2 separate regions of the Homo sapiens genome follow, and region 1 is linked to region 2. Evidence: promoter capture Hi-C in 16 types of primary human blood cells and fetal thymus (Javierre and others, 2016). All regions are on one chromosome and are shown on one strand. The core of a region is centred on a gene start or on the middle of the fragment in contact, and the rest is flanking DNA. Distances in the headings are between cores, read along the strand shown.

Region 1 (3,599 bases), core at 144-2,643, 110 kb before region 2:
GTGAAAACAAGCTCCGTGATGAGTCAGGAATGGTGCAGTTGTTCCTACTGGGTGGTTCTGGTTCTATCGATTATGCTTCTTTATGTAGAAGTGAAATTACACCCTCTGGGCTCACTGGCAACCGCGAATGTGACACCTGTCGCTAAGCAGCAGCCAAGAACTGTGGTGAGCTGGAGGGCTGCGTTTATTACAAATTTATAAGTGTGTGTGTCTTGGGTGTATAGCATTACACCTCTGGGAAGAACATGGAAACCTGAGGGAACAAATTGTTTCATTAAAATTACTTATAATTAACTGTGAGCTATGTGATGGCCTTTTTACATTTGGGATCTGTATCAGTTTTCAGTGTTCTTTCCTGAAGCACCTTAGACAGCAATGGGAAGAAAGAGGATCTTATCTATATCTTTCCCTTAAAGTGAAACTCTTTCTGGCCCTTTACCGAATGAAGGAGCATCAGTATGAAGGAGAATGTATTTTGCATATTTAAGCCGGTATATGTTTACCTATCAGGTCCTTCTATCTTTGAAATATTTTGAAAGGGACCTTGCTGTGCAGTCATGTATTGACTCTATCATGCCATGGAGAGCCCCATTCTGCCCTCTTGGGAGTTCTATACATGTGAACATAGAGCTACAATTCTCTATGTGCCTTAATGGGGCCTGGTTTGAGTCAGAGGCAGAGGAAAGCGAAGTTGGGAAATACCAGTAGCTACCCTCTGCTGAATGCCTCCTGTGTGGCAGGCATTGCGTTTGTCTTGTTTCATCTTTATCTTATTTAACTTTCACAATAAGCCCAGGAGGTAGGTGTAATTAATCTTTTTACAGATGAGAAGATGGATGAGAGGTAAGGATATTTTCCAAGTATGATCATTCATTGAGACCAGCTTGAATTAACAGTGATAAAGCATTTGCTTTCCTCTAGATATTACTTTTGATATCCATCCTTATTTTTATCTTAGTCTTATCAGGAGCTCTCTCAGCATCCTGGCTACTGAAGGAGGACAGTCTTTTCTATCTGGTTTTCAGGCATCTTGCCTTACTAGGCTAGTGACAGCACCTAAAAATCTATGACATGCAGAAGAGTGTTATTTCCCATGCTGTCTTCCCGTGCAATCTCTCTGTGACCCACAGCCGTCTGTGGTTTCACTTGAGTTGATTATAGATAACTCTTATACATCTGTTTACTGCAGTTTTCCACCTTTGATCAAATGCTTTCTAATCCCTGTTATGTCTAATATAGATCCTATTACTCATAACCTCATTACCCCTTTTTAAAATTAAAGTGTAGATCAGATTTTTCGTTGCTTTTATAAAGACTTTTGATTTTAAGATATTAAACACAAGGATAATGAATCAGGAACTATAATTGATAGTGACACATAGTTCATTACAGGGTTTCCCAACCTCAGCACTGTTGATGTTATAGACCAGATAACTCTTTGTTGCACGGGGTTGTCCTGTGCAGTGTAGAATATTTAGCAGCATCTCTGGCCTCTACCCACTAGATGCCAGTAGCACTCTCCCACCCCTATTCAGGCATTGCCGGATGTTCTCTAGAAGGCAAATTTACCCCTGGTTGAGGACCACTGGTTTATTACATGTATTTCTCATTACTTTGGGCCCTGGCTTATAGTTGATAAAATTTTTAGAGACTCCTCCACTGGTAATATAGAATCAGTGAAAGTGATAATACTTACCATAACAGTGAAGTGATATTCTTGTTTTAATATCTTCAGATTTTTTTTTTTTTTGAGACAGGGTCTCACTCTGTTACCCAGGCTGGAGTGCAGTGGCACTAACATGGCTCACTGCAGCCTCAGCTGCCGCTGCTCAAGTGATCTTCCCACCTCGGCCTCCTGAGGAGTTGGGACTACAGGCTCAAGCCACATGCCCAGCTAATTTTTGTATTTTTTGTAGAAATGGGGTCTCATTATGTTGCCCAGGCTGGTCTGGAACTCCTGGGCTCAAGCAATCCACCCACCTCAGCCTCCCAAAGTGCTGGGCCTACAGGTGTGAGCCACTGCACTGGTCTAATATCTGCAGATATTAATTAGGTTTACTCATTGTGAGATTTTAAGGTGGAAGCTAAAAAGGCAGAAAAATATTTTTCTTCTGACTGAACAGAAAGAAGTTGAGCAAATTAGGTTTCTGTTGTTGACTGGCAAGACCATCTACAACATATTTAAATGATTGTTTTAAAAGGTCGAAAATGAGATATTGGAGGCTTAGAGACTCAAGGCAGTGCACCTAGAAATTAAGTCAGTTCAGCAAACAGTTGACCTTAACATACCATGTCTGTCAATCTTGCACAGATGAGCAGAAACTCTCAGGAAAGCCTGTCTCTCCATGGCAACTCCTCAGCCACCCAGCTGGGTGTCAGGCAGGACTTCAGTCCTTTGGTGGAAGACTGATTAAGAGCCAGTCGTAGTCTAGGTACAAGGAAGTTCCCAGAACAGAGACTCCGACAAGGGGGTGAAGATGGAGACCTGGTTGCCAGCCCTGGATTACAAGGGTAACAAGCTGGGAGCCATTTTCTGAAGTGGTGCTGAAGGGCTGGCAGCAGGGCATATCTCAGGATGTGAGAATAGATCCATGTTCCTCAAATTGGCCTGGGCAGGACAGGAATACTCTGGGGCAAACTAAAAATAAAGGATCCTAGCTGACATTGGATCTATGGGATTGGAATACCCAGAAAAGGAGTCTAGGAGTCTCTGTTTTGTTTGTTTGTTTGTTTTTGTTTTTGAGACAAAGGCTCACTTTGTCACCCTGGCTGGAGTGCAGTGGCCTGATCTTGGCTCACTGCAACCTCCGCCTCCCGGGTTCAAGCTATTCTCCTGCCTCAGCCTCTCGAGTAGCTGGGACTTTAAGCACACGCCACCATGCCCGGCTAATTTTTGTATTTTTAGTAGAGATAGGGTTTCACTATGTTGGCCGGGCTGGTGTTCAACTCCTGACCTCATGATCTGCCCACCTTGGCCTCCCAAAGTGTTGGGATTACAAGCGTGAGCCACCGCATCTGGCCAGAGTCTCCATTTTTAACAAGCATGGCTGCTTTGCTTGTTCCCAAAGCACTGTTCTTCCTTGGGGTTCTTGCACTTGCTGTTCCATCTGTCTTTCTCTAATAGCTGGATACAGGGCTAGCTTCATGGGCATGTGACCTGCGCAGTCACAGAAGACCCCATGCTTAGAAGGGCCTCACACTTGGTTTAATGCTCTACTGTCATCTCTTGAAATTTTTAATAGTTTGTGAACAAGGGCCTCACATTTTCATATTTTTTTACTGGCCCTGGGCGAATGATGGAGCTGATTCTGGCTGAGTGATTTGTTCCCTCATTGCCTTCAAGTCTTTGCTTAAATATCTCATTCTTAAGGCCTTTTCTGCACACTCTATGTCAAATTGTAGCCTTTCTCCCTAGTCCCCCAGCGCTCCTCCCCAACTTCCCTGCCATGTTTTCCTAACAGTATTTATCATTCATCCAATTTTTTTTCTTTCCCTCAGAGCTACCTTTCTGGTGATACAATAGTGAGTAAATAAAAATCCATGTCCTCATAGAGCTTATATTTTAGTTAGTGGAGACAGTAAGTAGAAAAAGAAAATGT
Region 2 (3,618 bases), core at 282-2,781:
GGAAGGGAGGAAGGGGGGGGGAGGGAAGGGGAGGGAGGGGGGAGAGAGAGAAAGAGAGAGAATGCCGCAGGTCATTAGGTATTATTTTTCATTCCTCCTGCAACTTTCTACTGAAAAGATTACCAACGACTGACAGATCTTTGCCTCCAATCTTCCCCACCCTTCCCTTTATGCTTCAAAATGCTACAAAGTCATCTTCCCAAAGCAGCTCTGATTATATAAATTTTTGCTCAGAAACATCTGATATACCCCCACTGCATGCAGAGTGAAATCTGGGCTTCTTGGAGCATTCAAGACTCTCCATAATATGTTTTGGTAGGCCAAGAGTTAGACCACTTGGATACCTTGATCTCTTGCTAAGTATTATTTACTTTCCCTACCCTATAAATCATCTGCCTCAAACATTAATCTTTGTACCTTCAACACCCCCTCTATTTTCTGTACTGTATTTGCAGCATTTCTTGTCTATCTCAGCCTGTCAAAATTAAACTCAGCGTTTATGTCAGGTTATGTCTCCATAATGCCTTATCCACGCCCTTAGTCAACATTCTTCTTCCTCTTCTGTGGTGCATAAAGACTTTTATATCTCAATCACACCACCTTTGGCGTTCTGCCTGGTTTTACAGATAGTTATGTCTTGGTGTCCCCTACTTCCTTACCCTGTGATTTAAGCATAGTATGGGTTAGAACATTTGCCATGAATTGGCCTGTGGCAGGGAGCTGATGATCCTTGTTATCAACCATTCAAAGTTTAGCAGATAGTTTGGAAAATCAGGCGATTCTGCTAATTCATGAAATTACTCATGAAAAAAAGTCGAAAGGAGTCACCCGTCTCTAAGGCGGCTTTTTGCTGTCTAGAATAACCGTGACAAAAGGTGGGAGCAAAATAATTAGCTTTCAGGGGAGTATGGCTTCTCTAAATAGTTGCAAGATGCCTACATTGTTTATGTAAAATAAAATATCTTATGTACTGCACTTTCGAAAAGACTGAAGATATCTAAGATATCTCCAGGTGGAAATTCCCGGTGACGGGTGTCCTTCTGAGGTCAACGGCACTGACCATTGCACACTGTATTCTGGAATACGTTCAACACAGCAAAACCGGCTCGTGGCGCGTCCCCGGCGTCCGACTGCTGCGTGGCCCCGAGCGACCTGCACCCCACTCGCCCCCGCCCCCACCTCCGCCCCAGTCCGCAGCGGCTACAGCCCGGGAGGCTCCAAGGGAACTCCCGCACGTCTGCGCGCGCAATCACGGGACGGCGGGTCGGCGTGGCGCGCGCAATTGCCCTGGAAACCACGGCGCGCGCACGCGCAAACGCGGGTGATGGGGGGAAGAAAGACTGAGCTGAGAGCTTTGCCGCGGGGGGAGGGCTCTACCTCGCTCCCCCGCGGTGGGCGCGCGCGCTGGCCCGCTCCCTTGCTGCACGCTCCCGGCTCGCGCGTTCCCCCCGGTGCCCTCCCCCGCCTCACAAGCACCCTTGCCCTCCCGCATTTGTGCGCCGGTGCAGCAGGCAGTGGGAACATCCGGGCATTTCCGCAGCTGAGCGGCGACCCGGGCGGCGGCGGCGGTCGAGGAGCTCCCATGGCAGGGACGAGGCGGAGGGAAGGCGAAAGGGGGGCGAGGAGTTAAGCCAGAGCCTCCGCGGGGCGGGTTTCCGAGGGAGGCACAGAGGGAAACGGCTCTCGCAGCCCGAGGAGGGTCAGGCGCGGAGCTTGTCGCACCTCCCGCGCATTCTGTCCAGCCCGGGCTCCGGAGATGCATCTGCATCAGGTCCTCACCGGAGCTGTCAACCCTGGAGACAACTGCTACTCCGTGGGCAGCGTCGGGGATGTCCCCTTCACGGTGAGCGGCGGCCGGGAGCCCTAGGGGAAGATACCAGGGGCCAGACGCGGGGGCAGGGACCTCCTGTCCAGGGCGCACGCCTCCTCAGGAGGCTGTGAGATGTTGGTGGGCCCCACCCGTGGCCCCTTTGCAGCCTTGGGGTTTAGTTCCCCCTGGGACCCGTGGGACCGTGGGTCCTGCGTCTGGTGTAGGAAATCACCCGTTAGGGGAAAGGCTTAGGAATCCACCGCACTCTCCACCCCAAGCAAACGGGCCTGAGGTGACTGGACTAGAAGGCTCCTCCTAGGGCGGCCCTTCGGTCTGCGGTGGAGGAAAGTGGTGGTGCGGCTGAAACCCCAGAGCGTCCGTTTCGCAGCTGCTCTCGGCGTGGAGGCGAAGAGACTTGGTGTTGGTCTCGGAGCGTGGAGGTGAAGAGACTTGGTGTTGGTCTCGGAGCGTGGAGGCGATGCTGCGCCTTGGCTCCCCCTGCCCGCTGTGCTAGGGCAGCGAGGAGCTGCTGGAGTCTGTGGCTTTAAGCCTGACTCTGTATCTCCTGATAATGCAGGATCTTAATTCCAACAAAAAGATAGAAAAATTCATCCTCCGCGCCCGAAAGATTTAGAATGGAAAGGTTAGAGTCACAGTGGCTTGGAGAGCTGTCTCATTTATCAGGAGGTCGTAGTTTGGTAATCCTCCTAGATAATATTTTAATCTGTAAGGTAGCCTTTTTTTTAATATAGTAAGGCAATGTGAAAAATTTACAACAGTGCTTGTTTGAGAAAAGTGTATGTATACATAACGTTTTAGAATCTCCTTAAAAGCTAGATGAAGTAGACATGTTTCTCAAGGAGATTGGACTCATCAGTCCTTTTTGAGAGTGGAAATGTTTAAACCAAGCCTTGGAGCTTCGTTTACTCATAGATAGACTCCCATAAATTGAGTTCTTTTTTAAAGAATGAAATTTATACATGGTCTTCCTTATAAGGAACTGTAGGCAGCCAGACCTTTATTAAATATATTTTGTAAACTGTTCTTCTTGATAAAACTGGAAATTCCGTAATGGTATGCTTTTTAGACAAGGAAAACCCTTTGATGTCTGCTTTCCAACAGTGTTTTTAAAACTGCGGAAAATAAAGCTTCAGCAAAACTGCAGAATCATTATGTAGCAGTGCATTCTGGAACAGAATTTATTTTTTGACGTTTTGTGATACATTAACCCCAGAAGATTGCTTTTTAGCCATTTTAATTTTTTAGTGTAATCCACTTGGCCTAGCTCCAGTTTAGAACGACCCCTTTTGTCATCTGTGTTTTATGTACATGTGACTTAAAATATTCATATAGAGCTGAGCTTTGTCTTCAAGTGTGTGGAGAATCTTGGTTTTTGGGGATAGAGAGAAGAAATTTCCCTGTTCCCCAGTAGTGCAGATAGGAAGTTCCTCAGGGTTAGAAGAGTGGGCCTCTTTCATCAAGAAACAAAGCTGGAATCTTTGGTTATATTTTCCTGCTAGAATGGTGGTGGTAGTTTTCTGCTTCCATCTAAAGTGGAGTGCTGTCTCACGGCAGGTCTGGTATGTAGAACTAAATAAACGGGTTCAGATGCAGCCTGGAAAAGCCTGTGTAAGAACTGTTAGTGCTGTGCAGGTGTGGTTATGCTGTAGGCCACTTGTGACCAGATGCTTAGAGTCATTTTCAAATCTTCTTGCACTTCCCTAATTCAGCGTTTCACGAAGTCTAGTTGACTCTGCACTGTCTACCAGATTTACTCCTTTTCATATCCTTAACCACCACCTTATTTT

The links. Contacts are between HindIII fragments. The CHiCAGO score rates a contact against its expected background, and 5 or more counts as called.
Region 1: a contact is called between a fragment that was not itself captured here and the fragment with the promoter of DMXL2 in region 2, in 1 of 17 cell types (monocytes). The highest score is 7.0, in monocytes.

The regions. Positions count from the first base shown.
Region 1 is chr15:51,733,325-51,736,923 of GRCh38, reverse strand. All of the region lies in intron 1 of LYSMD2 (LysM domain containing 2), which reads left to right. Among named protein-coding and RNA genes, the nearest start is that of LYSMD2, 2.5 kb to the left of the region's middle. RefSeq lists a silencer at 1,494-1,563 and enhancers at 2,364-2,423, 2,434-2,493. The HindIII fragment of the contact is 6,506 bases long and covers 1-3,599 here.
Region 2 is chr15:51,620,684-51,624,301 of GRCh38, reverse strand. DMXL2 (Dmx like 2) reads left to right here and starts at 1,531. Exons shown (of 44, transcript NM_001378457.1): 1 at 1,531-1,843. The coding sequence starts at 1,757. RefSeq lists a silencer at 1,394-1,613 and an enhancer at 1,984-2,393. The HindIII fragment of the contact is 5,213 bases long and covers 1-2,960 here.